Linked DNA regions of Homo sapiens: regions 1, 2, 3 and 5 are each linked to region 4. The links are contacts of gene promoters, found by promoter capture Hi-C in blood cells and fetal thymus (Javierre and others, 2016). All regions are on one chromosome and are shown on one strand. Each heading gives the region's core, a stretch centred on a gene start or on the middle of the fragment in contact. The rest is flanking DNA. Distances are from core to core; before and after follow the strand shown.

Region 1 (6,021 bases), core at 170-2,669, 3.1 Mb before region 4:
AAGAATATTGTGAGAGATATTTTACACTTTTTCATAATCTTTGAAATCCAAATGTGCCTCCCATAATTTTACACTTATGAGAGGCACATCTCAATTCAGACTAGCTATATTTATAATTCAAGTGCTCAGTAGTCACATGCATCTAGTGGCTACTGTATTGGACTGTGTACATGTAATGTTTAAAGATAATGGTCTAAGTAGTTATCTGAGAATGTGTTTCACTTGCAGGTTATGGAAACGTGGTGGAGTTGCGCATTAACAGTGGTGGGAAATTACCCAATTTTGGTTTTGTTGTGTTTGATGATTCTGAGCCTGTTCAGAAAGTCCTTAGCAACAGGGTAAGCAGCTTTTTGTCTTGATTTTTTTTTTTTTTTTTTAAAAAGGGTTTTGGTTCTTTAGAATATATCTTTACAGCTGGGTCTTTATGTAAAGTGCAGTTTATTCCAACATGTTCAGGTAATTTATTCATTATTTTCAACCATTATTAAAAGACTTGCCTGGGGGTTTAGGAAAACAAACCTTATGTTTAAGTAACTTAGTTTTTGAAAACATGAATTATGAGAATGAGAAAATGAATAGTTATCAGTGCACTGAGATTTACGTAACTACCTTTCCTTGGTGGTGGCTTTTGGTATACAGGAGATGAAATACAAACCTACTTCTAACTATTAACTAAGATAAGAGCCAGTTTGCCCAGGACAGTTTTGGTATACTGCTGTTTTTAGAGAATAACTATTAAGAGCTTCTTCTTTAAGTTAATAAATTGGATTTGGAAGATAAATTATATAGTCAACCTACTTGGAACCATCCTTACTAACAGTACTCTTACTCTGTACGTTCTAATAATAGAAGAATTTGTAGAATGGAAATCTTACTGTGGGATCCCCAAAGAAAGCTTCCCTTCCTCTAGCAAAAAACTACTTTTTGTAGTAGTAGAGAAGAACAAGTGTATAAATAATATTAATTTACTAAGCTATACTTTTTTATTGAGGTGAAATTTACATAACAAAATTAACCATTTAAAAATGTACAACTTAATTGCATTTAGAACACATTATTGTGCAACCATTACCTTTAATTCCAAAAGTTTTTTACTAAAAGCCATAAGCTCTTTACTCACTAAGCAGTCATTCCTTGTACCTGTCTCCCAACCCCTGGCAGCCACTAATCTGCTTTCTGTCCCTATGAATTAAAATTGTGTACTTTAAACCATATAATAAAAATACTGCAGATCAGTGATATTCTCCAGAATGTTAATGGGCATACTGCAAAGTTTTTTATTTTTTTATTTTTTTTTTTTTGAGACAGTGTCTCTCTCTGCCACCCAGGCTGGAGTGCAATGGTGTGATCTTGGCTCACTGCAACCTCCACATCCTGGGTTCAAGCAGTTCTCCTGCCTCAACTTCCTGAGTAGCTGGGATTACAGGCACCCGCCACCATGCCCAGCTGATTTTTTTGTATTTTTAGTAGACATGGGGCTTCCCCATGTTAACCAGGCTGATCTCGAACTCCTGACCTCAGGTGATCCGCTGACCTTGGCCTCCCAAAGTGCTGGGATTATAGGTGCGAGCCAATGCACCTGGCCTTACTGCATAGTTTAATGTTGTGGTTATAACATGTCAACCTGAGTATGCAAATATACATTATCTTTCAAATTATTTGACCATTTATTTTTGTGAAGCATCTCCTGCAAAATACTGTTTGAGAAATGAGAGAACAGTGGTTTATCTCACCAAAGCCACTGAAGAACCCAGAAATGTCCAGTAGGCTTTGTAGATAAATCCATCATTCAGCATGTATTAGGCCTAGTGGCCACCCTTCATTTCATGGTATTGATAGAAGTCTACTATGCTCCCTTCACTAATTTTTTGTGTGAGCAGAAATAGCTTATGTAAGACTGATTGCCGTGGTGTATGACATACTGTAGTGTAGCTTACCGTTTCAAAGCTTATTTTTCCCTGGAGGCCTTGGTTTGTATTCTCCTTTCATCACTCATTAGTGTTGTGACCCATGGGACAAGTTACTTAACCTCCCCGGCCCTTAGTTTGCTAGTCCTTAAAGTAGGTATCTACCATCAGAGGGTTGTTGTAAAGGTTAAGTGAGCTAATAAATTTGAATAGAGCTGGGCACAGTGGCTCACGCCTGTAATCCCAGCACTTTGGGAGGCCGAGGCGGGCGGATCACGAGGTCAGGAGATTGAGACCATCCTGGCTAACACGGTGAAACCCCGTCTCTACTAAAAATACAAAAAATTAGCTGGGTGTGGTGGCGGACGCCTGTAGTCCCAGCTACTCGGGAGACTGAGGCAGGAGAATGGCGTGAATCTGGGAGGCGGAGCTTGCAGTGAGCCGAGATCGCGCCACTGCACTCCAGCCTGGGCAGCAGAGCGAGACTCCATCTCAAAAAATAAATAAATAAATAAATTTGAATAGAACACTTCCGCGACACATAGTAAGTACTCTTAGATACTCATTTTAAGAAATTAGAAAATTACATTGCTGGTGAAGAGCATAAATTGAATATATTGAAATGTTTCGTAGCCCCTTAACTACTTTGGCTCTGTTAGGAGGAAACGAAGGCCAAGACTATCCAAAATTCTCAGGAGGTGTTAAAGAGCAAATTAAAGTTTATGTCAAATTAATGAAGTTTTTATTTTAAATGTATATGTACTTTGCATAAATATGTACAGTACCATCTTTTCACACTGGTGATGATGAGGTTTTATTCTAAGCCTCCAAATCTATGGAGAAGGTGGCAATTTTTTTTATTTTTTATTTTTTATTGGGACGGAGTCTCACTCTGTCGCCCATGCTGGAGTGCAGTGGCACGACCTTGGCTCACCACAACTTCCGCCACCCGGGTTCAAGTTGCACTCCAGTCTGGGTGACGAGTGAAACTCTGTCTCATTAAAAAAACAAACAAAAAACTGAACTGTGAGAACTTAGCTGATTTATAATCTGCTGGTTCTTTTTTTTTTCTGAGTCGGAGTCTCGCTCTTTTTCCCAGACTGGAGTACAATGGCGTGATCTTGGCTCACTGCAACCTCCGCCTCCTGGGTTCAAGCAATTCTCCTGCCTCAGCCTCCTTGAATAGCTGGAACTACAGGCGTGTGTCACCATGTCTGGCTAATTTTTGTGTTTTTTTAGTAGAGACGGGGTTTCACCATGTTGGTCAGGCTGGTCTTGAACTCCTGACCTCGTAATCCACCCGTCTCGGCCTCCCAAAGTGCTGGGATTACAGGCATGAGTCACCGTGCCCAGCCTCTGCTGGTTCATTATTACAGCTTTCTTTATCTTTGATAGTGATAGCCAGCTCATCAGTACTCTTAAGTCTGGTCACCTTGATTCTTACAGCCCATCATGTTCAGAGGTGAGGTCCGTCTGAATGTCGAAGAGAAGAAGACTCGAGCTGCCAGGGAAGGCGACCGACGAGATAATCGCCTTCGGGGACCTGGAGGCCCTCGAGGTGGGCTGGGTGGTGGAATGAGAGGCCCTCCCCGTGGAGGCATGGTGCAGAAACCAGGATTTGGAGTGGGAAGGGGGCTTGCGCCACGGCAGTGAATCTTCATGGATCTTCATGCAGCCATACAAACCCTGGTTCCAACAGAATGGTGAATTTTCGACAGCCTTTGGTATCTTGGAGTATGACCCCAGTCTGTTATAAACTGCTTAAGTTTGTATAATTTTACTTTTTTTGTGTGTTAATGGTGTGTGCTCCCTCTCCCTCTCTTCCCTTTCCTGACCTTTAGTCTTTCACTTCCAATTTTGTGGAATGATATTTTAGGAATAACGGACTTTTAAAGAAGCAAAAAAAAAGACTGAATTTCCTTGCTTACTTTGCATATACAGACTGGATTTTTTTTTTTTTTTTACAGCCATTTCCCCAAAGGAATGTCTTGCATATTACTGACATTTGGTATGTTTCATTCATTGGAATATTTCTTATTTTCTACGTGTTTGAAAAGCCTGTAAGAAATACAGGATTTGATAATATTTTGAAGGCAGGAAAAACCCAAATTGTTTCTTCTTTGAGAGTCATGACTACCTTCTGGTGTGGAGAAATTGCCATTGGAAAATTTGACAATTTTGATTCTCACTGGTATGTTTAAAAACTGAATAAAAGGAATAGAATTTTTTTTTGATAAAGGATCACAAAACAATTCTAAAACCTAACTGTTTTTACCATTGAAATTTAAATTGTGATAATAGGTTTTAAATGTCTAGAATGCAACTGATAGGCTTTTCTTGAACTGTTAGTTTTTTTGAAGTAGTTTTTTCATGTTTAATTTGTATTTGTAAAAAAACAAAAAGCAAAAAAATTCCCAAAACCCAGATAACAACCAGAGCAAAACTGTTGTGCCTTCTATTTATCTTTGATTTCAGTCTTGGCAATTGTTTAAAAAAAAAATCTAGATTTGTTTTATTAGGTTCAGAGTATGTGGGGAATTATAGAATCCCTCTTTCATCACTTTGTGTATGTCTTTTGTTAACATATTTGTTATGCCTTATTCTAAAATTGAGTCTCAAACTGGAATGCCTTTGAAGACAGATGCTTCTATAGAGGTTCTTTGACCTAAATAGTTCAGCATTTGTATTTTTATTCTGGTATCTAATCAGATTCCTAATCATAGCCCGTAAGAAGGAATGTTACTTTAATATTGGACTTTGCTCATGTGCTCGTGTCCGCATTTTTTTTTTTCTTAAAATCATAGCCATATGGTAAATTTTCTATTTTGTTATGGTTCTCTTTTATTGATGGGCATGCAGTGGGTGTTACTTGGAAATGGCCAATTTTTATTAAAATATTTCTGGAAGAAAATTTAATCTGGCAATATAGACTAATACTCGTTTCACATATGTGTTATTTGTTGAGTGCTGTGTGTGAGATGGGTGAAGGTTTTGTTTACACGTGTGAAACAAACTTTTGTGTGATTGTCATTACTAATTGAAGGGCAACCAGGTTGTAAAATTCAGCGTATTTATTTTCTTAACAGTATTCATCTTTAGGACTGTCGTTTGAGGATAGCATAGGAATATTTGGTTTGCATTACTGAGAAACTCTAGGTTTGCTGTGATGGTTAAGACCACAGTGAAGTTGGTATTACCAGTTTGGTTCCAGTTCCTCAAATATTTGAAAATTGGCAGCATCTCCTTTACATAAACTTAATGTAACTGAATCACATGGCTTTTTTGTAGGGTTAAAGTAACTTTGGTAACCACTTTTGGCCCAGATCACTGATAATAGGAAGAAATACAACTTATACTTTTGTAGCTTATATTAAGCATGTGGTGGGTGGAAAGAAAAGTTTAGTCTGAGTCACTTTGGAAAAAAAAATTACTTTGTGGTAACTTCAAGGTCATAAATTATGGATAGCCTAGAAATTATCCTTCATGAGTGAATACTAAATTATACATTTCAAAACAGAAGTTCTTCCTACTTGGAGACTTAAGGGCATTAACTAGATGCAGCAATCCTCAGCTTGGTGTTATCACATACTAGAGGACATTTGGAAATGTGTGAAATTTGGAAGGGTTGTTGGAGAGACATGCATCTGGCATTTATTGGGTGGGGTCTAAGGATACCAAATGTTGTGTAAAAATGAAGCAACCCCATTGAGAACACTGATAGTCCCTATTCCTGTGGGTGGGTGGAGCTGTGGGATTAGGAAAACTGGAATGAAGACTCATTCTTTTGAAACTCAGCCTCAGATAAATAACAAACTAGGAAATGGAAATCTGTTTCAAGAATTGCAGTAACATCTACTCTAAGGAATTAGTAATTTCACTTTTTATTATTTGTACCAAATGTATGTGTGTGTTGTGTATGTTGGTGTAAATGTGGAGAGGTGGTAGCAATACATACTGATGCTGCTTGTAATTTGTTGCAGGGAATTACTGCACAATCTCAGAAAATAGAAAGCTTCCCCAGTGCTTTCTGTCATCAGAGTTGGGATGATTGTGAGGTTTTGAATGATAGTATTGGACCTAAGAAATAGGATTAGCATCATGATCAGAACTGTTG
Region 2 (5,963 bases), core at 3,178-5,677, 4.6 Mb before region 4:
AAGTGCCGACAATGAATTTTATTAGGAGCAAAACAAAAACAACCTGTTGCCAGACAGAAGGTATTAGACAATCCTGGTGTGGTTTTGTTTTCGTTCTTTAATTTAATTCCAGTTCTGCATTTCTTCCAGGGTCAGCCAAGGATGCACAATCCAGTTCCTTCCCCACTGCCTTCCAAAGCCTTCCACATTCCTGCCTCCAGGCCTAAACTCAGTGAGCACCTTGCCTGCCCTGCCCTCCCTTCTTCTTCAGGAGAGGTCTGTAACCATTCCTGCACTTGCCAATACTTATTAAGTGCCTGCTGTATGCAGGCACTGTGCAAAATGTTGGAAATAATGCAACCAACAAGGCAAAGGTAAGTCTGCCTTCAGGGAGTTTACATTCTACTAAGGCATGCATTCTCAAATGGGGCCTTGATGCCCTCGAGGAAATGAAAACTGGTTCCTGGAGGTGTTGGTGGAAAAAAATCTTAGATCTTACAATGGTTTGTATGCTCATCATGTACATTCATCACCCATCCAGCCACCCAAGCAGAAACCTGGGTGTCACCACCAGTTCCAGCTCCCAGCCCTCTCTGATCTCAGGGGTCCCTCATAAGGCCTGGCCCGTGAAGGATTCCACTCTCTCCCTGCAAACATCCATCTGCCTTGCTTCCCTCGCTACCCAGTGTAGATCCCAGGACCCAGAATTTTAGCATCTCTTTGCCAATACTTTAGACTCCTGTGCCCTTTTTTCCCCACCCATCTGGCAAAGCCCTAGGCCTGGATAAATCCCACTATGTACATACATCTCCCCAGCCTGCAGCTGGGTAGGTGAGCCCTGATGGAGGAATTCACTCAGCAGGACAGGACGAGACACACATACACTAAGGACCACCAACCTCAACTGGGGAGCCAAGGCTGTCAGGCAATTGGGGATTTTGTGGGCAAGTTGCTTCTCAACACTCTGAATGATCATTCTTTCAAACTCCTCACCACCTCTTCTTCACTCTCAGCAGAAGACCTTGCCTCCCACTTTGCAGAAAAAATAGAAGCTCAAAATGAAATCTCCCTTAACATCCCACTATAAACCTACATCTACATCTGCACCCATCCTCTCTTTGTTCCTGCTTTTGGGTTCTAGAGAACTCATCCCTCCTCCTCCCCAAGACGAACCCCCCCAACCCACATGCCTGATCCCAGCCCCTCGCACATGCTTGAGAGAACTTTACTCGCTGATTATCTCCCCTATTTCTTACACTCTTGGTTAACCTCTCTCTCCTGGATCTGCCATTCACTTTTAAACAAATCTCAGGTTTCTTCTACCTTGAAACACACCTCCCCTAACATACATATTGGCCCTAGCACTTTATCTTTCTCGTCCTTTTTATACAAAAACTTCTCGAAAGACCCACTGCCTCCCTCATCCCTCCTGCACTCATCAGACCACTGCCATCTGACCCCCTCCATCATGCCACACATAAATAGCCCTCCCTAAGTCCCCAACAATCTCCACGCCTGTCCATAAACCAAAGCCCAGGGCTGCACCCTCCTCCTATCTGACCTCTCAGAGCATTCCCTCCATCAAGTCTTCCCAGCTTTCTAAAATGTCTCCCTTGGCCTCCTTCCATAAGCCCACTCTCCTGGGCTTTCTCCAAGCTGTCCAGCCACTCCTGATCAGCCTTTGCAGGCAGATCCTTTTGTACACAGCCCTAATCTGTAGATGTACCTCAAAACTTCATCCTGGGCCATCTCTCTTCTCTCTCCACATTCTTCTCCCTGGGTAAGCTTCTCCTCATCCACAGCCGCAATTATCATCTGTCTATCGACAACTTCTCATCTTCATCTCTAGCCCAGACCTCCACGCCACGTCCAAACCCAGGTTTCCAAGAACCTTCTCAACATCTGCATGTGGTGACTGTAAGGCATTTCAAGCTCAAGATGTCTAACATAGAATATATACTTTCACCTCTCTGTCCACATCCTCCTCTCCTCAATCAAACCACCCCCCTGTCTCAGTCCTCTTCTAGTTTTTTCTATCTCAGTGAAAAATACTGCCTACTTGTTTGCACAGAAACCTCAAGGTCCATTCTGACATTGCCTTTTCCTTCCCCTCCCATTCCAACACACCTCTGTGAAAACTTTAGTTCCTGATTAACTCTGGGAACCTTCCACTCTCTTCAACTCCACTGCCACCAGCACCCTCCCCGCTGCCCCCGCCACCTACCACCCGCCCCCCCCCCCCACATACACTGTCTTCTCCCTGGATGCCTGCCTGCACTCCTAACCCTGACTTGTCTTCCCACATCTACTCATACCCACCAGACACACTCCACTCTCCACTGGGCAGGCACACAGGTCACAGTAAAATTCAGATTTCATCCTGTACCTCTTGGGCTTACACCGTCAGTGGCTTCCAATGGCTCTTAGGATGGAGGAAAAAAAACCCTGATGTGGCCAATCCTTCACATGGAGTCTGCCCTCTGCCCACCTTCTACACTCCCCAGTCCCCCTGCTCTCCCTCCGGACTATGCTACAAAGGCCTTTTTGTGTCTATTCTCTCAGCTGTACCTTCTGCCCTAGGCCCTTTGCACAGGTTCTTCCCTCTGCTCAGGTTTCTTCTCTCTGACTCTCCCTTACACACAGTTCTGGTTTCCTCATAACCATTAATTTCTCAGGGAATCCTTCCCTAACTCCCAAGAAAAAAATAGATCCCTCCTTCCTGTTATATGCTTTCACAATAATAGCACACACGCACACAGAGAGCGCTATTGTTCAGAGCTCCTCTAAGCATTTCTGCTGAGAATTCATTTACTCCTTATGACAACCCAGTGAGGTAGAAATTATAATTATCTCCATTGTACAGATAAAGAAACTGAGTCACAGTGACTTGCCCAAAGTCACCTAGTTAATGAGGCAAAGCCAGAATTTGAACCCAGGCAGTGTGACTCCAGTGCAGCTTTTAAACACTATATTATTACATAAGAAAACACTATCCTTTTCCTTCCTGCACTTACCCGCTGTTTGTAACACTGTATTGTATGACTATTAGTTTAGTATGTGTCTCCTCCGTTAGACTGTAAGCTCTATTGGAGTAGAGACAATTCCATCACTAGACTGTAAGCTCTATAGGAGTAGAGACTATTCCATCCCCAATGGTAGGTACTCAATAAATATTTGCTCAAGAAAATGGGAAATGTTGAATGTGTACAGACACATAACATTTTCCATTCAAGTTCAAGACAAAGATAACCACATACCTGGACCTCCTAGGGTTAGGGACTCCTGCGCCCGTAAGAAACATGCTGCCCTCAGATTCTCAATGGGTCGGTGAAGTTAAGAACAGCTCACTCTAACATTCTCCAGCCTACCTCACCTTTTCCCTGCCATCCTTCCCTCAACAACTACAACAGCCTCACATTTAGTATTAATGGTATGTGCTTTGGTTTTAGCAATCTTTTAAAAACACAAAACAGGGTCAACCTCCTCGGAAAAGCCAGTCAGAGACTATCTAATGCCCTCAGAGCAAAGTCCAAACTCTGTTGGGGGTGGGGGAGTTGTAGGCCTTGTCTACTTCTTCATCCTCATGTGCCCTCATTTGTTCCCTCTTCCCCACCTCACCCCACCCCACCTGGACAGCCCAGCAGCGCAGACTAGGGGTTCTGGGTTTAGGGTTCCCAGGCAATAGCAGGGTGTTTTCTCATGCCTAGACTCATGCAGTGCCCTCTGCCAGTCCTCTCCTTTGCACCCAGCAATTTCGGGTGTCTTTATGCCTCAGCTTAGATATCTCTCTGGGGTTCGGTGCTCCTCCTTGGGGCGCCCATAGGCTGCATCTGTCCCTGACAAGGCACACAAGATATTGAACTATAGTTGCTTGGTTACGGACAGTCGTCTCTGTGAGCTTTGAGGGCAACTGCCATGTATTATGCATCTTTTGAATCCCCCTAGCCTAGCCGGGTGCTAGCCCAAGTTAGGTGCTTATTACAGATTTGTTCAGTTAGCGAATGAATCAATGAATAAACTGGCAATTCGTGTCTGGTTCATGGGCACCAAAAACCGTGCGAAATGGATAAATGAGCAGGTAATGGCAGTACAAAGTTCGGATCTAGAGAAAGATCCAGATTAGGGAGTTCAGAGATGAGTAAAACGCAGACCCAGCCATCAGAGAATTAACAAGGAAGATAAATCTCTTCAAGAAGCCAGCCGGAAGGATTAAAAGAGAGTCGTCCAAGTCCCGGCCGGCCCCGGGGGCGGGTCCCTGTCTAGCCCCGCATGCTCCGCGCCAATGGGCGGTATTGTTGATCACGAGTCTCCGCCCCCTTCGCCTTGAGGGGCGGGGCCGGCCACTCCCGGAGAGGGGACTACGTTTCCCGGCGCGCCGCGCGGCCGGAGCGAAAGAGGAGCCGGAAGTGTGGCGCGCGAGGTCTAAGGGCGCGAGGGAAGTGGCGGGCGGGGACTAAGGCGGGGCGTGCAGGTAGCCGGCCGGCCGGGGGTCGCGGGTATGGCCGAGGCCAGGAAGCGGCGGGAGCTACTTCCCCTGATCTACCACCATCTGCTGCGGGCTGGCTATGTGCGTGCGGCGCGGGAAGTGAAGGAGCAGAGCGGCCAGGTAAGCGTTCGTGGGCCGTGTGCGAGGGCCGCGTGCAAGATGTGGAGATCAGCGGCCCGCGGCCCGCGCCCCGTCCCCAGGCGACCCGGCAGGCGCCCGGAGCCGGGTCCCGCAGTGCTCGACGGCGCGGCCAGGGGTACCGGAGGAGCCGCAATCTCTGCCTTCCCACTGCGACTTCAGTTCCCCTGGGCCTCACTTTCCTCATCCGGGCAGTGGGTTGGGCCAGAAAGTGTGCTCGCAGGGGCCGAACTTTGTAATTCCCGCTTCCCTTACCTCCACGCCCTTCCTGGTAGCGGGTATTTTAAGTTTCCTAAGTCTCCCGCCACGTGGCTAGGCTCTGCGCGGCCCCCCCTGGGGCAAGGAGGTTGCTGCGAGTCTCGGGGGTGGATTGCGACCAGCCCCTCGGGGGAGCGCCTGGAAAAGGGACCCTACAGCCTCTTAGTTGAGCTGGAACTCAGGCCTTTAGCGATTGTCTGTACTGAGACGGTCAGCTTTGGTACTCGAACTCGTGGTACAGTCATTTCTTACTTGATTAATTCAACTGTTAATCCGGTACTCAGGGTGCTTCCTGGTGTTCGAATGGTGAGCACCATCTCTCAGCCCTCCTGGAGCTTACACTCTAGTAAGGTAGACAAATCAAAGAATCACAAAAGTGACTATATGCTTAGCACCGCAATAAGTGTTAAGAATGAGAGGGATGGGCCGGGCACGGTAGCTCACGCCTGTAATCCCAGCACTTAGGGAGGCCGAGACTAGCGGATCACCTGAGGTCAGAAGTTCGAGACCAGCCTGGCCAACATGGTGAAACACCGTTTCTACTAAAAATACAAAAATTAGCTGGGCATGTTGGCGCACGCCTGTAATCCTGGCTACTCATGTGGCTGAGGCACAAGAATTGCTTGAACCCGGGAGGCAGAGGTTGCAATGAGTCAAGATCGTGCCACTGCACTCCAGCCTGGGCGATAAAGCGAGACTCTGCCTCAAAAAAAAAAGAGAGATGGATGGCAGATTGCCCTGGTCAGGAATAGCTGAGGTGTAAATGCCTTGTGGTGGGAGGGAACTTGTGTACACACTGGCCTGGAGAAAGTCCACTCTCTTGAGCCCAGGAATTTGAGGATACAGTATGAGCCATGATCATGCCACTGCACTCCAGCCTGGGCAACAGAGCAAGACACTGTCTCAAAAAAAAATTTTTTTTAAGTCCATAGCAGGCCAGGTACGGTAGCTCACGCCTGTAATCCCAGCACTTTGGGAGGCCGAGGCAGGCGGATCACTTGAGGCCAGGAGTTCAAAACCAGCCTGACCGACATGGTGAAACCCTGTCTCTACTAAAAATGCAAAAATTAGCCATGCATGGTGGCATGCACCTGTAGTCCCA
Region 3 (6,116 bases), core at 2,737-5,236, 4.3 Mb after region 4:
CCCATCCTCCCCACCTGCCCCCAAAATTAGTAATAATGCAATCTAAATTTTAAAAAAAATCAAATGGGTTGCTTTGTTTTTGGAATGAGACCTAGACAATTTTGAGACAATTCTTAAATTCACATAGAAAACTAACCATAAAAAAAAAGCTCAGAGGAGGAAATAAAGAAAACTGAAGGGACTAACCCTGTTAGACAGTAAAATATAATCTAAACCCTCAACAAATAAGACAGCGTGTTAATAGTTCACAAACAGGCAGACAGACTAAAGGAAGAGAAGTTCAAAAATGAAACAAAATATATGTGAGAATTCAGTATATAATGAGAAAAAAATGGACTAAATAGGTGAGGATGACTGTGTGGTTATCTAGAAAAAATAAAATTATACCTATAACACACTATTCATACAGATAAATGAAGCAAAGATTTAAATGTAAAAATAAACCCACAAAAATAGTAAGATAAAATACAACAGAATTCTTTATAAACTCAAGAATAAAGAAGGCTTTTCTAATTGACTCAAAATACTAAAGCTTAAAAACCTTCTAAATGTCAAAAAATCATAAGCAAAATCACTGAGTTGAAACTGGAAAAACTATTTTCAACTTATCACAAAGGATTAATTTCCCTAATGTATACCAAATTCCCACAAATTGGTAAAAAAAGAATCTCACAGAAAAGTGGGCAGGGTATATAAACTGACAACTCTCAGAAGAGAAAATACAGGTTTTTCTTAAGTATGTGTATGTTCAATTCATTCATAATAGAAATGCAAACTAAAACTACATTGAGTTAAAAAAATCAATTTTTCCACCTATTGGAGTAGCCAAAATATTTGTGGTAACAGGCTGTTTTGATAATATAGGATTGTAGGAACTCTCAACCACGGTTTTTGGAGGTACAAAATAGTAAAACCCTATGGAAAGTACTATCTGTCAACACTACAAATATATATAAGTTAACCCTTGAACAACATAGGATGGAACTGTGAGGGTCCACTTACATGTAGATTTTTTACAACCAAACTCTTATGGAATACAGTATTTGCAACATGCAAAACCCACGTATACAGAGGGCCAACCTTCTGCATACATAGTTCCACAGGGTCACTTGAGGGACCTGAGTATGCGCAGATTTTGGTATACGTGGGCATCCTGGAACCAACTTCCAGCATACACCGACGGACCACTGTACTCTTTAACCCAGCAACTTCGCTTCTAGTAACTTAGCCCCAGGTTATATTTGTACTTGTTGAAATTATAGCTATACAAAGTTATTTAGCACAACGCTGTACAAAATAGCAGAAGGTAGGCTATCTAAAATGTCCACCAATGGAGTAATTAGTTCAATAAATTATGGTATATCCATACGAAGATACTATGCCAACGTAAAATGCAATCGGGAAGAGGAGAAATGAGGCCTCGATATCTACTCAAGAGAGTCTTTAAGATCCGGCAGACTGTCATCATAAGAAAAAGAGCACAAAACTCTATTTCATAAATATCTAAAAGCAGTAGTTATGGCTCCACATACATCACAAACAAAAACCATGATTCAAAACCATGTATACCATGCTAACATCTGTATAAAAAGGGGGGAAATATACATTTTTTATATTTACTTATATATACATAAAAATATCTCTAGAATTATACAGAAAGAAATAAAAGCTACATGGTGTTCAGAGTGAGAACTCAGCGAATGAGTAACAGAGATGGGAGGGAGATACTTTTCATTAAATACTTTTTATGCTTTTTTATTTCTGAATGTAGATACATTATTTTATTAAGGTGAAATTTGATTTGTATTTGAGGGTGAAATTCTGTAAACAGGAGCATTACATAAACACTATGTAATATTTTGACAAAGGTAACTCCAACCAAAACATTGTTCAAGCTGAAAATATCTGTTCATGCAACCACTGAGCTTACTCTACTTTGGCATGGAGTAAGCATATTTAAGATGGCTCAACTAACTTTATAAAATTATAAACCAGATTATGAACTTCAATTGTACTCGAAAACATTCAATTTCTAAAATTAATATTCCTGGTTATCAGGCAGCTGTTTTTATAATAAATATTTCAACCTATTCAGAAACAATATATAAGCACATTTTTAAAACCACAGTATGTATGACTTTGCTGATTAATCTAAAAATCTAAGCCAAGTACCCAGTTGTTCTACAACTGACGGGAATTACTTTCCATAAATTGGCTAACATACAAAGCCTTTCATAAAAGGCTGAGAATTACAGTGTTTTGCAACATAAAGGAACTTTCCCATTTCAGAGACATTCCCAAGGTAGTGCTATCCACAAAAGATGAGTTTACTGAACCGAAACGTTTTGTTTCTAGTGCACCATCTCTTCTACTACATCATACTTCTTTCCACAACAGCTTACCTCTTAGGGATGTAAGGGGAACGTTCTCAGGGCTAAGTTTTAGAACCCAGAAAGTGATAAAAATAAATCTCAGAGAGACAGGACAACTCTTCATGACTTTATAAAAGATATATTTTGTGACAGGCAACTCTAATAATAAAATATTAGCAAAACCACTATAGTACCATTCAAACCATGTCTGGAACTCTGCAATCACAACATTAATAAAATATATTGCTATATACATTACAAATAAACCAAAACCTAAAAAGTAAGGATCATGATTTTTATTCTAGGTAAATTTTATCTGTTTCATGCTTGTATTTCTTGACTTTAATTTCTTCAATCTCTTATCATTATTTTTACCACTAACCCCATAGCATATCAATGATAGTTCCATTTTTCTTGAAAGGGGATTCAAGCAAAAAAAAAAAAAATTATAGTTCCAGGAGGATTTTTTTTATGGAACAAAGTATTATAGTATCATTTCCCAAATTTCATTTAACTGAACACTTTATCTTCAGCTGATGTTAATGTTTTCGTTTATCTCAGGGAACAATAAAGAATGTTGCATTTTAAAAAGCTTACTTTCTGAATTACTACCAAACCCCAAAACAAGGACAAATTAGAAGGGGCCAAATGTCTCTAAAAGTATTTCTCATTGTTTATATTTCATCATATTAAAATCTAGAATGTTTTCTTCTGCCTTCCAGTTTTATCCAGTAAAATAAATCCAATACTGCTTACTTTCTTGTAGCCTTAATAATTCATGTGCAATGATAAGACAAAACTATCAAGATTCATAAACACTCATCAATAACTATATCACTATCATCTTAATGAAAATGAACTTCATTTTACCCAAATTCAAAAAGATACTAAGACATAAATCAGAATGCTCACTAGAAGATTAGAAAATGTGATGTAGACACTCACCTACATAATGCATATTAAGAGCCAAATACTTATACTGGAAAAGAGGGTTATTACTAAGGCTACTTCTTTGGATCTGCTGGAAAAAGGAGCTGACATCCCATCTGTACAGGACATCCAACAGCATGATGCTTGGCACCCTCAGGGCCACATTTAACACTGCCTCCAGTTTCTCCTTTGCAGCCATGTTGTTTTTTTTTTTCTTTTTTTTTTTCTTGGAGAAGACCTAAAATTCAGAAGACACAATATATAAAAATAAAAAGTCAACACAAATCGCTTTTAGATACCCTTTCACGAATCTAATAGGTTGTCACACACTGTACAAAACTATGTGAGAACGTATACTACTTCTCAGCCACAACTACTATTTTTAGATATTCATAAAATAACCTCTGTATTGTGTTTTCACATTGACCCATTCAGTTCTGTCCAATCTTATAATTCTGATTAAATGTTCTGGCCTCAAAACTAATTTTTTAAAAGGCCACTAACTCCAAATCTAGGAACAAAACACTCTGTAAGACTACTGTAACTTGTATAAAATTAACTTGAAAAATTCACTCACTCCAATAAAACTATGATTTATGTAGCTCATAAGAGGGTGAATTTTGAATATTTACTCTATGAAAAAGCCTAAGCAATTCAATAAAAACTTGATAACTGCACGTTTAGTTTGCAGCATCTTGTACTCTATGCTTTTCCTTATTCACTTACAATCAAAATTGAAGTGCTAAATTTACAATCCAGAGAACTCATGATGTAGATACAGGTAGAGGGAACATTATTTACAATATCATTTCCTTGAATCTTTAAAGTTAAATATGGTCTAAAATTCCCATAATCTGCCTTCAAGTGTTCATCAAATTCTTCCCTTGATACACAGATAAGCAGGCACATGGAAGACGCCAGGCATTGAGTCTGCAGCCCCTGTCTCTGCACAGACCATGATAAGTAGTGGGGGGGGGCAGGGGGAGGAGGAAATGAAAGGCAGTTATCAGGACAATTTACTATTTAAAGGGACAATTCAATGCCATACTGCTTTATATGGTAGAACTTCAAATTAATCCAAAAAAATATAAAATAGGGCAAACAAGGCCGGGCGCAGTGGCACACGCCTGTAATCCCAGCACTTTGGGAAGCCGAAGCAGGCAGATCATGAGGTCACGAGTTCGAGACCAGCCTAGCCAATATGGTGAAACTCCGTCTGTACTAAAAATACAAAAATTAGCCGGGCATGGTGGTGCACACCTGTAGTCCCAGCTACTCAGGAGGCTAGGGCAGAAGAATTGCTTGAACCTGGGATGCAGAGGTTGCAGTGAGCAGAGATCACAATACTGCACTCCAGCCTAGGCAACTGAGCTAGACTCCGTCTCAAAAAAAAAAAAAAAAAAAAAAAAGCAAACAAAAGTGGGTAAAGAACAATTTAAAGAGTAAAGATAATTCTGGATTGTTGGCTCTGACAATATCCTTTTAAGAATTTTGCTGAGAAAGCTAAACACATTTCCAGCTTTAGCAGTAATTTCAGACATTACAGGACAAACGAAAACATTTATTTCTGCAGAAAATTATAGTGACAGATTGCTATGCTATGGTTAAATATTTGTCAGTATTTCCATCTTACCCTCCAATTTTCATAGCTTCCTAGTTCAGATAGTCAAAAAGCTAAAGGCAACCCAACTTGGCACACTATCAATAAAAGCTTTTCAATAATCATATATCAACCATTCCCATAACCCAAATGTTTTATATATATAGCCTGCCAATAATATAGATTTAACATTTTTATAGATAAGTACTGCAATTCTGATTATTTCACATGAACAAGATCATTTTCATAATTTTCCTACATAAGAAAAAATATTATTGTGAAAATCAGAACTAAATATCATGTCCTAAGAAGGAAAAATGCACTGAAAAATAAAATCTCTAACCTTTAATATTTATTGCAAACCAACCACTGAGGAATCTAAATTTCTCAAAGCCCATGATATTATTATTTTTTCTAATCCCAGGAAAAAATACACCAAAACATTCACAGAAATTGTTGGTAAAGAGTTTAATGCATTTTAATGTGTATAAGCCATCTAGATAACTTCAGGAATTACAGTGGAAAGACTTACTTTGGTGAGCAAACTGATAACCCAATACCCTCTTGGGAATTTATTTCAAAGTAATATTGAATAGATCTTCTCACAAACCACCAGCCACCATATTTGAAAATCACCACGTACTGAGATGACAGTATTACTGACAGTCTTTATACTGCCATCGAAAAGTAACTATTTTTCTATATTCTGGAATCCAATATAAATCATTACTCTGTTTTTATAAGTAACAAGAGAGGGAGGAGCTATTACTGATTTAACACTTGTAGCCCATATTTATTTCATTTGATTTGGAACCTTTCTCTTTTTTCAATGCTTTGCTATTTTAAAATGTGCCCATTTTCACCATTTACTGTGGCTCCTAAACGGGTAAAGAAGAAAATTTAAACTAAACAAATAACTAATCCTGCTTTAGAAATCAAGATCTGCTAGGGAAGAAAAACTCCCTAATCCGTACAGAGGATCATCTCTATTACAAAAGTCCATTAGCAGAATGGTACATGTTCCCTCTTTATTTCCACCCACCACTCCTGCCTAACAAATATAATAAGAAACAGAAAACAGGACACATTTCTATTTCTATAAAGAGAAAATACCGGGTCCCGAAAGCTGTCAATAAAAAACAATATCCAAGATCCCCCTCTACTACATAGTCAACTCGAGACTGAAATGTTTTTAACAAGGACTTTGGATAGAA
Region 4 (5,644 bases), core at 1,072-3,571:
AGCCGGGTGTGGTGGCAGGCGCCTGTAATCCCAGCTGCTCGGGAGGCTGAGGCAGGAGAATCGCTTGAACCCGGGAGGCGGAAGTTGCTGTGAGCGGAGATCACGCCACTGCACTCTAGCCTGGCCACACAGCGAGACTCCATCTCAAAAAAAAAAAAAAAGTAAAATGCAACAATCCCTAGACAACAAATACTAGGGAGGCTGAGGCAGGAGAATCGCTTGAACCTGGGAGGCGGAAGTTGCAGTGAGCAGAGATTGCGCCACTGCACTCCAGCCTGGGCGACATTGCGAGACTCCATCTCAAATAAAAACAAAACAAAACAAAAAAAGATATGCACAAGAGGCCACTTAACAAAAATATTGTTGTACCTGAGTGAGTTAGAGAAAACGCCACACTTTGAGACGAATTAAGAGTCCATTTGTTTAGCCGGTGGCCAAGAGATGGCTAACGCTCAAAGTTCTCTCAGCCGGAAGAAGAGGCTAGATTTTCTTTTATACTTTGGTTTAGAAAGGGGAGGGGAGTCTAGTTAAAACAATTTTACAGAAATAAAGTAGGCAAAAAGTTAAAAGGATAAATGGTTACAGGAAAGTAAACAGTTCCAGGTGCAGGGGCTTTAAGACTATTTATTACAAGGTGATAGACTGGGGGCTTTGGGTGCTATCAATCAGACGAATTCCTGGGAATTGCGGATATTGCTCGCCACAGTATCTTATCAGTTAATTGCATCTTGGATGTGCTGGGAGTCAGCTTGCACAAGTTAAGTTCTTGAGGAAGGGGCTGCCAGTGAAAGAGCCAAGATGGAGTCTGTCTGGCTCTCTTAGCTAAGCAAGAGTCAATTCAAGTGGAAACAAGGCTAGGTGATCAGAGGAAAAAGGGAGAGTCTAAAAACAGGGTTAGTAAAAACAAGGTTGGGCATTACAATATGGAGTCCGGGAGACAGGCTGGTGTGAGCTGTGATCGAGCCACTGCACTCAAGCCTGGGCAATAGAGTGAGACCCTGTCTCAAAAAAACAAAACAAACAAAAATATGAAAGTACGAATCTGGAATTAAAAAGGGAAAGAACAGTTTCTGCAACTGGGTGGAAATTCTGGCTCTGGGTTCTGGGTACTCAAAGATGAAGGAGAAGCAAATGGAGTGACTCTTGATTTGCTTGATTGAGGGCCAGCTGTGTGAAGGAAGCTGTATGTGGTAAATGGTGTGGAAGAAAGTTTCCTTTCAACTCAAAAATGCTAAAATGCTCAGATTCTGCACTACTCGTGTGTTGCTTGTTTGCATTGGGTATCTGACATTCCTGCATAGGTAGCAAACCGCAATCTGAACTACCTGTTATTCTAATACAGAGGGGTCAAATACATATATTTGAAGGCGTCTAGGGGCACAAATTTGGAGGCACCTAGTCGTAGATTGATCACTGGTTTGCCAGTTGTTAGTTGAGAGACTTTAACATATCCTAAATATGTTTCCTCATTTGAAGAAGGAAAATGATAATCCATGCCTTGTTGGATTGCTGTGAGGAATAAATGAGATTTAGTGAAATACCTGCCTGACATAAGGCAGTAAATGCCAGATGAATATAAACTCATTCTTGAAGGTCAACCAGATTAGTAGGGATTAGGACAGCATACATCATATTTGAACTATTTGCTCTTTAAAAGAGATTTTAGGCTAGGTTTCGTGGCTCATACCTCTAATCCTAGCACTTTGGGAGGCCGAGGAGGGCAGATTGCTTGAGCCCAGGAATTCGAGATCAGCCTGGGCAATTTGGGGAAACTCCTTATCTATAAAAAATACAAAAATTAGCCGGGCGTGGTGATGTGCGCCTGTAGTCACAGCTACTTGGGAGGCTGAGGTAAGAGGGTGGCTTGAGCCCGGGGTCGAGGCTGCAGTGAGACTAGGTCATTGCTACCACACTCCAGCCTAAGCGAGAGAGAGACCCTGTTTCAATAAAATGAAATAAAATAGCTTTCACACTATTTCAACTGATCTTTACAACAAGCTTGTGCCCTAAGGTTAGTCATTTCTGATAAGAAAACTGAGGACCACCGGATTAGGTGGCTTGTTCACGGATTCTGTTCCCCTACTCCTTTCTAGTTTGTGAGTTGGGACTTTAGTTTTTCTGAATCCAGGTGAATTTTCGGAAGCCCACGTGCTTTCGGCCTTTATTAATTAATTCATTCCCAAGCCAGGTTCGCCTGACCACACCTCGAGCGCCGGCCCAGTGCTTGCGATCTTCGTGACGGCACCTGGGGTGTAAGTACTGCTTGTGGGAGAGCCCCACAGGAAATCCAGAGTATTGCGCATGCGTGCTGTCCAGAAGGCGCTTGAACTCGGCGGCTTCCGTAGCGGGAGGGCGAAAGATGGCGGCGGCAGTACTGGGACAGTTGGGTAAGGATTTCTTAGTGGTTAAGCGACAGAAGGGAGTCGAGATGGAATCTGAGTTGACGGCTTGTGTTGATGTTGCAGGTGCGTTATGGATACATAACCTGAGGAGCCGGGGGAAGCTGGCCTTGGGGTGAGTCTCTCGCTTCGGAGTTTCGGAAGGGCCCAAGGCATCTTTAGTATTCTGCCAGTTGGTAACTGAGCGCCTCCGTGCCTAACTGTGTTTTAGGCTCTGGGGTTACTGAGGCGAATGAGACAGCCCGAGTCTCTGCTTTGTCACTCTATTTTTTCTCCACCTTATTGCATAAACTGTACAGGGATCAGGATTACCCATAACCCAAGGGCGATTGTAAATGCGATTTCCGAACGTCTACTGTGATCTTTCTGGACAAGGTTAGACTATTCCATCTCCATATGGAAGCGTCCAACTTTTCAAGTTACCTCTCTGATTACTTGCTTACATGGGCAGGGACCGTGTTGTGGACAACTCTGCTTTACGTCGTACCTGACATTGTGTTTAGCGGTTTATATGCTTTAACTCACTCTCATAACATTCTACGAGTAGGTTCTGCTATACCCGTTTTTCAGACAAGGAAATTGAAGTCCCCAAACGTAAAATAACTTGCCTAAGGCCACTCAGTTGTAGGAAATTTTGAAGCTTTATACCAGAGCATTCTGTAGCCTTAGGACAAAAGCATTCATTAAAGGTTAGGGTAAGTAGTCGCTGTATTTCTCCCCAAAATAAAAAATCGGTATTTGAAAATTGATAATCTGATTGTAAATTTTCTGGTCTGTCCATTTGTTAGCATTGATTTTGGTTTAGTTCATAGGCTTTGCAGACAGATGAGTTGTATATGAATCCATTTTTTAACTGTGATCTTGGAAAAGTTACTTATTCTTAATAAGCTTCAGTTATCACTTTTATGATATGAGCGTTATGTTAGTACCTATCTCTTAGGATTTAAAAAATTTTTTAATTTTTATTTATTTATTTTTTTAGATGAAGTGTTGCTATGTTGCCCATGCTGGTCTCAAACTTAAGGGCTGAAACAATTCTCTTGCCTCAGCCTCCTGAAGTACTGGGATTACAGGCACATGCCATCTATGTAGCTCTAGTAGATTTTAAAAAGGAAATTCAAACAAGATAATGCATATGAAGTATTTAGTATGTTTATGGCATGTGATAATCCCACTCTGAATTCTAGTTGCCATTAATGTTTTTATTATTATAAATTATTACTGAGTTCCCAATTATATTTAACCCTTTTCTAAGTTTTTGGGTCCGAGGGGGATAAAGAGGTGGGCTAAAGAAGAAAATAGGAAGTAGTAGCTCTTAGGATTTGTCTGTACTCTTCTTAGATAATCTTCTATCACTCTTCCCCCAACCATGCTGATTTACTTACTTTTTCTGAATATACTTTGCACTTACTTGCTTCTTGGCTTTTCCTACTATGCCCTCACATCTTGTCTATAACAGCAGTCCTACCCATTATTCAAACCTCTGTTCAGATGTTTTCCCTTCAGGAAGTTTTCACTGGTTTCTCTAAAACGGAAAGAAATTAGTTTTTCCTTCCTTTTAGCATGTGTGCCTTCTATGATGACTTCATGTATATGTGTATGTGCCCTTTACTAGCTTGTGTATCTTGGAGAAGTAGGGACATTTATTTATTGTTGTACCTCCAGCATAAGGTCTTACACAGGCAAGTATTTTGATGTTGATTTGAATTGTCTTGCACCAACTTGTATTAAGAAGCTCTGAGCAAGAAACTTAAGCAGTTTGCCTTTAGTCTTTTCCTCTATGTCATGATACAAGAGTGTTTGATTTTGCTAGATAATCTCTAAGGCTATTTGCAATTCTGAAGTTATTACATAATTTTGTGAATCCTTATTTTGGATTTTCTAGTGGGGAAAATGACCATAAGAAAACTAAGTAGAAAGGTATAAATAATGTTCATGATAACCATGTAAAATTTTAGCATATAATCTGATTCAGTGATGAGAAACTTTTTTTTCCTTTTTTTTTTGGAGACACGGTCTCGCTCTGTGCCTAGGCTGAAGTGCAGTGCTGTGATCATAGCTCACTGCAGCCTCAAACTCCCGGGCTCCCACCTCAGCTTCCTAAGTAGCTAGAACTACAGGTGCATGCCATCACACCTGGCTAATTTTTAGGGTCTTGCTGTGTTGCTCAGGCTGGTCTCTAACTCCTGGGCTCAAGTGATCCTCCTGCCTTGGCCTGGAGGGATTACAGGCATGAGCCGCCAGGAAACTTAATTGCATATAGGCCCCAGACTAGAAATAAATAAACTAAGGGAAGTTGTCTATGTAAAATGAGAGTGGGAGGGCCTGTGGTGGTCAGTAGAGTGTATTCCTCATCTAAAAACATTGAATTAGGTTAAGAAAACTGCTGCTGACCAAATAAAACATTTCTGCAGGATATATATATATATACACACATATATGCACATATATACATATATACACATATATATACATATATACACATACATACATGTATATACACACACATATATATATAGATATTAAAATTTTTTTTTTTTTAAAGACAGCGTTTTGCTGTGTCACCCAGGCTGGAGTGCGGTATCATGATCATAGCTCACTGCAGCCTCGATTCAAGCCATCTTCCCAACTCAGCCTCCCAAGCAGCTGGGATCACAGGCGTGCACTACTACACCTGACTTTTTTTTGAGTTTTAGTAGAGACAAAGTCCTGTTATATTGCCCGGCTGGTCTGAAACTCCTGGGCTTAAGTAATCTCCCACCTCAGTCTCCCAAAGTGCTGGGATTACTCTGTAGGCTATATTTGTTAGCTGACTGACAGTTTTCAGTTTTTGAATTCCAAGTCTCCTATTTTACTGATGCATACATTTGAGAAGTTTTGTGACTTACTGAAGGTTACACAGTTAAATGTCAAAGTGAGGATCTAAACAAAATATTTTCTGGGACTACAGGTGCAGGCCGCCATACCTGGCTAAGTTTTGTATTTTTAGTAGAGATGGGGTTTCACCATGTTGGCCAAGCTGGTCTCAAACTCCTAGGCTCAAACGATCCGCCCGCTTTGGCCTCCCAAAGTGCTGGGATTACAGGCATGAGCCACCACGCCCAGCCAAAAAAATATTTTTTTTTAGGAGACAGAGTCTCACTATGTTGTACAGGCTGGTCTCGCACTCTTGGGCTCAAGTGATCTTCCCACCTCAGGCTCCCGAGTCTCTGGGATTACAGACGTGAGCCACCAAGCCTGTCTGT
Region 5 (5,886 bases), core at 186-2,685, 3.2 Mb before region 4:
ATTTAGATTCAGCAACTATTATCTTACATGTAGTTGGTGATCACAATGTGGTGGCACACTAGGTTTATAATTTTATATCTCAGAAATCAGCTATTTACTTTTTTTAAAAAAGTATTCTTGGACATCCTGTCTGTCTTTAGTTGGGAAGGTCAAGTTGCAAGCCAGGTGATAGGGTTAAGAGTAGGAATAATTCACACACACGAATAGTGTCTTAATATTCTGTCTTACAAGGTGGAAAGCAATTTCAAAAAAATTGCCCTCACAGCCTGTAGCTTAGTAAATAAGGTCTTTAGGCGACTTTGTGATAGAGTCCCTCTTCTGTCAGGTGGCCAGTCTGTCATGTAATAAGTTCTTGGTATGTGTGTTGTATCTTAGGTACTTAATCAAAAGTAAAGATTAAAGATGATTGACAGAAATTTGGCTTCCTGGATGGTATACACATCTACTTAGTAGGGATGTAATCTTTGGTGGCTATTAACTTCACTGGCTATATAAAGCATCATTATGTATTTGTGTAACCTTTTGCATATTTAGAGAGTGCTTTCACACATCTTTGGTATTACCATACTTTTACTAAAAAGTGAATTGGAGCTCTGAAACCGAATTGTCAAAACTATTTTGAAAAGCATGTGGTACCTAATAGGGTACTATAGCCAGCTTATTTCCTTAATTGAAAAATCTTAGAGGGATTTTGAATCTGGAATGTATGAATGTGACACCTGCCTGCCCTTGCAGGCTTCTCCCATATGCTGTTTATGCAAAGCCATAGGCTGTGCCTTAAGTACACCCTTGTTTCTGCACTGAGGTTGCCTAGATTTCCCTGGAGTGTATCCACCTGTCTTGATCTGTTTAAGAATTTTGCGGATGAGCATTAGTATTAACTGTAACATATCTTTTCACGTGATGAGAAAGAACAAAGATTTTTTTAAATTGTGAACCTGAGTAGGTTTTAACTTTGGAGTGGGGAAGGGATACACTAAGATAAAAGATAGTTGTTAAGTATTCTGATTCCTGAAGTTTTTTTTCTTTCAGGAAAACAGTATTTTTGAGATAAAGTAAGATTTGTGGAAGAGTTGCAATAGAGAGGTCTTGAATACCCATTATCCACTGTTAACATCTTATGTAATCCAAGTACATTTAACAGAACTGAGAAATTAACATCGATAAAATACTGTTAATGAAAGACTTTATTTGGATTTCCTTAGTTTTTCTACTAATGTCCTTTTTCTGTTCTAGGATCCAGTCCAAGATGCCACATTGTATGTAGTCTCCTGATCTGTGTCAGTTTCTGTCTTTCCTTTTGTCTTTCGTGACCATGACACTTGATCTCATTTGGATTTGATGTTAAGGATTAGACTGAAGTTACAGATTTTTGGGGGAAGAATACCACAGAAATTACCCTTATCACATCAGATTGGGGGTCCATAATATATAACTGGTTGAATTTAACCTGATGATTTGGTTCAGGTGGTATCTGTCAGGTTAGTGTTTTTTTCCCCTTTAGATACTATTCCTTAGATGCTAGTCACCAAGTCCAGCTCACACTCAAGGAGAGAGGGGAATTAGGCTCTACTTTCTAGAGGGAGGAGAATGTGAATTTGTGGAAGTATATTAAAGCTACTGTTATTATTTTGGGGGAGATGCTTCGAAGCCATGGAAATAAAGTTCCCCTCCTTAATTTTAGCATTTTAATGGATCTCGTCTGCAGCTATTATTACTTCGGGGTTCTAATGGTGATTTTTTTTATTTTCCTCATTCCTTCTACAGTATAAATTTTCTGTGAGGAAGATTTGTGTATTCTTCATGTTTTTTCTTTTTTTCATTTATATCACTATAGACCACGGATATTAATTTTATTCTTTGGGTTGTAATCCACAATTATCCTTGCTGATGTTTACTTATTTTTGATTATTATTTATTTTATATTTTTATAAAATATCGTCCAGGCTGTCTCACACTCCTGGGCTCAAGCAATCCTCTTGTCTTGGCCTCTCAAAGTGCTGGGATTACAGGTGTGAGCCACTGTGCTGGCCACAGTTTATTTTGTTGTTCATGTTGTTCCAGCTTTTTTTTTTTTTTTTGGCTCCTTTGTCCTTTTGACACTTCCCTATCTTATCTGTTTTTTAAAAGCATGTTTTTTCTTTCATTAATTACCAGGTATTTCAGGCTCATCTTGCATTTTGCCTGTCTCAGGTCCAGAATCAACCATTTCTCCAAGGAGGCGTCAGGAAGAATTGTGAAGGGAGGTGACAGGTGGTAAATGCGAAGAGTTTGGAAAAATAGATTGACAGTAGGCCCAGTGATGTTGATACTTTTCTTGCTCTGAGCACAGATGTTGGCTTCTGTATTCATGTTACTCCAGTTCTGGGAAAAGATTTTGTTTCTAAATTCCCACGATTTAGAGAACCAGATATCAAATGTTTGAATACATGACATAATCCTGAAACAAAATTTACAAAAATTTAATATATTCTCAAGTTAGTACACACAAACACTTGCTGTTTTTCCTTGGTGTTTTTGACAACTTTTTTAAAGTAAAAAGACCACTTAAATACTATCGTACTCAGAATTAACATTTGACATTTTGCATTGCCCTCTAAGACTCCTTTTTTTCTATACGGGCTTCCATTCCCTTCCTTCCAGGGATCTTTTTCACATCTTTCCAGGCTGTTTTATTGATGGGGAATTTTTAAAAATAGCTTTATTGAGGTATAATTGACAATAAACTGCATGTTTTTAAAATGTACTGCCTGATAATTTCAGACACCTTTTGTAATCCCAGCTTCTCAAAAGACTGAGGCAGCAGAGAGGATTACTTGAGCCCAGATGTTTGAGGCTGCAGTGACCTATGGTCATGCTACTGCACTCCAGCCTGGGCGACACAGGAGACTCTTAAAAGAAGGTATACCCATGAAACCATCACCACAATCAAGATTGTGAACCTATCCATTACCCCCAAAAGTTTTCTCATGTCCCTTTTCCCTCTTTCTTGCTTGTTCCTTCCACCCTTCTCCCTGCAGGAAATCCTTGATCTTTTTATCACTGTAGATTACTTTGCGTTTTTTAGAATTTTTTTGTAAATACATTATGTTCTTTTTTTAATTGCTCAGTGCTAGTCTGTTGTGTAGGCATATCACAATTTTTTGGTTTACCTGTTGGTGGGCATTGAAAAACGGCAGAAGCTGTGTGTTTCCAGCTTTTTGACTGTTACAAATAAAGCTTCTGAACTTTGTGTACAAGTCTTTGTATGGGTATACGCCTTTATTTCTCTTGGGTAAATGCTTAATAGGGGAATGTTTAGATCATGTAGTAGATGTATGCCTAACTTTTAAAGAAACTCCCTGTTTTCCACAGTGGTTGTACCATTTTACATTGCCACCAGCGATGTTTGGGGGGTTCCAGTTCTGCCAGTATGTTGGCTAACAGTGTGTATGGTCAGTCTTTTTAATTTTAGTCATTGTGACAGGTGTTTAGTGGTACCTCACAGGTTTTAATTTGCATTTCTGTAATTGCTAGTGATCAGCATTTTTCATTTGGCATTCATATAATTTCTTTGGCGAAATATCTTTAAGTCTTTTGCTCATATTTTATGGGATTGGTTACTTAATTATTAATTTTTTTGTTTTGAGACAGTGTTTCGCTCTTGTTGCCCGGGCTGGAGTGCAGTGGCGCCATCTCTGCTCACTACAACCTCTGCCTCCTGGGTTTAGGTGATTCTCCTGTCTCAGCCTCCTGAGTAGCTGGGATTACAGGTATCCACCACCACACCCGGCTAATTTTTGTATTTTTAGTAGAGATGGGGTTTCACCATGTTGGCCAAGCTAGTCTCGAACTACTGACTTCGGGTGATATGCCCTCCTCGGCCTCCCAAAGTGCTGGGATTACAGGCATGAGAGTACTTTATATATTCTGGATAGAGGTATTTTAAAAATTAGAGATATGGGTCAGGCGCAGTGGCTCACACCTGTAATCCCAGCACTTTGGGAGGCCGAGGCAGGTGGATCACTTGAGGCCAGGGGTTCGAGACCAGCCTGGGCAACATGGTGAACCCTCATCTCTACTAAAAATACAAAAATTAGTCGGGCGTGGTGGTGTGTGCTTGTAATCCCAGCTGCTTGAGAAACTGAGGCATGAGAATTGCTTGAACCTGGGAGGTGGAGGTTGCGGTGAGCGCCACTGCACTCCAGCCTGGGCGACAGTGGAAGATTCCTTCTAAAAAAAAAAAAATCAGTCAGTCAATCAATCAGGTAAATGCCTTGCAAATATTTACTCCTAATCTGTGGCTTGCCTGCGTGCCTTTTCATTCTTTTGATGGTGTCTTTGCAGGGCAGATGGTTTTAATTTTGAGGCAGTCTACGTGATCAATTCGCTTTCTTCTTCATTTGCTTTTGGTGTGTCTAAAATCTTTGCTTAGTGTCATGCAAGTTTTCTTTAGAAGTTCAGTTTTGGGTTTTACACTTTGATTACACTGAATCATTTTGAGTTAAATTTTGTATGTGGTGTGAGACATGAATTGAGGTTCTGGTTTTTTTTTGTTTTTTCCATATGATATCTAATTGTTTCAGTACCAGTTGTTGAAGAGAGTATACTTTTTCCACTGAATTGTCTTTGCACTTTTCTTGGAAATATAGTTGTCCATGTGGATATGTTAGTGAACTCCATTCTGTTTCATGGATCCATTTGTCTCTTTATGTCTAGCCTGTGTATCTATGTACGGTATCTGGTATTTGTGTATACTAAAAACACTTTTAAATATATGTAACGTTATCACACAGTACATATTTGGCAACTGATTTTTCTTTTTAATAATGTTTTTGAGTTATGTGCTCGCTTTCTGGCAGGCATAAATAGGGTGACATATGTCTTGGTTTGCCAGGGACAGTCCTGATTCACTTCAGTTAACCTGACACTATTAATAGTAGTTGTTTTCAATCTTAAAAGTGCTCTCATATGGTTGTCTTAGGTATAGAAGTTTCCCTAATGTGAATAAACCACAACTTAATATCCATTCCTTATTTGATGGACATGTAGATTGTTATCAATGTTATACTTTACAGATAGGGTGGCAGTTATTTGTTTTTGTCTTGTGTGAGTTTGTTTTGTCTTGGGTGAGTTTCTTTTGTATATGTACCTAGAAGAGAACTGCTAGATTTTCATCAGAGTGTTTTTGATTTTATTAGATAGTGCAAAATTGTTCTCCACTGTGGTTGTACCAGTTGAGACTTCATCTTCAGCAGTCCTGTAGGCTCTTTTTTTTACTTGGTTGCCAATGTTTGGTGTTGACTGAGATTTTAATACTTTGGCGCATCTCTTGTAAGGTATCTCCTGTGAGAAGTGATTTTATTAATTGCATTTTCCTGGTTACTTACTCTGTTTTGTTTGCTGTCCATTTAGTACTTTCCTGAGAATTGGCTGCTCCATTTCATTTGCCTGTTTTTCTCTTGGGTTACTCTTTTAGTGATTTGTATGCAGGTTTATATACATTCTACTAATCTTTTATTATATGATATTATATTTTCTTACTATAAAACTGGCACTGAAAATGGGCTATGAAGGCATTTGGCTACTTTTTATTTTGTTGGAGTGAGCTTTGCCATTAAAAATGCAGGTGGAGTATGGGCTGCCTTTATGTTTCCCTGCCCGTCTGTTAAAAATTGGAGGATAATGCTCATAGTTATTTCCCCCTCCGCCGCTAGCTGATGGAGTCTTGCTCATTCGCCTAGGCTGGAGTGCGGTGGTGCGATCTTGGCTCATTGCAAGAGCTCCGCCTCCCGGGTTCACTCTGTTCTCCTGCCTCAGCCTCCTGAGTTGCTGGGACTACAGGCGCCCACCACCATGCCTGGCCAGTTTTTTTGTATTTTTAGTAGAGACGGGGTTTTACCGCAT

What was found. The method cuts DNA at HindIII sites, captures the fragments that hold promoters and counts their contacts. A CHiCAGO score of 5 or more calls a contact.
Region 1: a contact is called between a fragment that was not itself captured here and the fragment with the promoter of MRPL22 in region 4, in 1 of 17 cell types (M0 macrophages). The highest score is 5.6, in M0 macrophages.
Region 2: the fragment with the promoter of TCOF1 here is called in contact with the fragment with the promoter of MRPL22 in region 4 in 2 of 17 cell types (fetal thymus and naive CD4 T cells); the score reaches 10.8 in fetal thymus.
Region 3: a contact is called between a fragment that was not itself captured here and the fragment with the promoter of MRPL22 in region 4, in 4 of 17 cell types (non-activated CD4 T cells, activated CD4 T cells, naive CD8 T cells and 1 more). The highest score is 12.3, in non-activated CD4 T cells.
Region 5: a contact is called between a fragment that was not itself captured here and the fragment with the promoter of MRPL22 in region 4, in 6 of 17 cell types (naive B cells, non-activated CD4 T cells, fetal thymus and 3 more). The highest score is 9.9, in naive B cells.

What each region holds. Positions count from the first base shown.
Region 1 is chr5:151,800,532-151,806,552 of GRCh38, forward strand. G3BP1 (G3BP stress granule assembly factor 1) reads left to right here. Exons shown (of 12, transcript NM_005754.3): 11 at 229-338; 12 at 3,354-6,021. The coding sequence ends at 3,560. Among named protein-coding and RNA genes, the nearest start is that of G3BP1, 32 kb to the left of the region's middle. The HindIII fragment of the contact is 1,052 bases long and covers 894-1,945 here.
Region 2 is chr5:150,353,270-150,359,232 of GRCh38, forward strand. It overlaps TCOF1 (treacle ribosome biogenesis factor 1), which reads left to right and starts at 4,428. Exons shown (of 27, transcript NM_001371623.1): 1 at 4,428-4,585. The coding sequence starts at 4,478. LOC105378226 (a long non-coding RNA gene) reads right to left here and starts at 4,151. Exons shown (of 4, transcript XR_944407.3): 1 at 3,237-4,151; 2 at 2,299-2,401; 3 at 1,706-1,894; 4 at 4-1,011. RefSeq lists an enhancer at 3,446-3,615 and silencers at 4,216-4,555, 4,636-4,855. The HindIII fragment of the contact is 5,465 bases long and covers 1,763-5,963 here.
Region 3 is chr5:159,200,117-159,206,232 of GRCh38, forward strand. It overlaps RNF145 (ring finger protein 145), which reads right to left. Exons shown (of 11, transcript NM_001199383.2): 2 at 3,318-3,540. The coding sequence starts at 3,501. Among named protein-coding and RNA genes, the nearest start is that of RNF145, 6.4 kb to the right of the region's middle. The HindIII fragment of the contact is 2,049 bases long and covers 2,963-5,011 here.
Region 4 is chr5:154,938,752-154,944,395 of GRCh38, forward strand. It overlaps MRPL22 (mitochondrial ribosomal protein L22), which reads left to right and starts at 2,322. Exons shown (of 7, transcript NM_014180.4): 1 at 2,322-2,387; 2 at 2,466-2,514. The coding sequence starts at 2,360. RefSeq lists an enhancer at 2,262-2,421. The HindIII fragment of the contact is 1,041 bases long and covers 1,997-3,037 here.
Region 5 is chr5:151,774,833-151,780,718 of GRCh38, forward strand. The region is part of intron 1 of G3BP1 (G3BP stress granule assembly factor 1); the gene reads left to right. Among named protein-coding and RNA genes, the nearest start is that of G3BP1, 5.8 kb to the left of the region's middle. The HindIII fragment of the contact is 3,564 bases long and covers 1-3,217 here.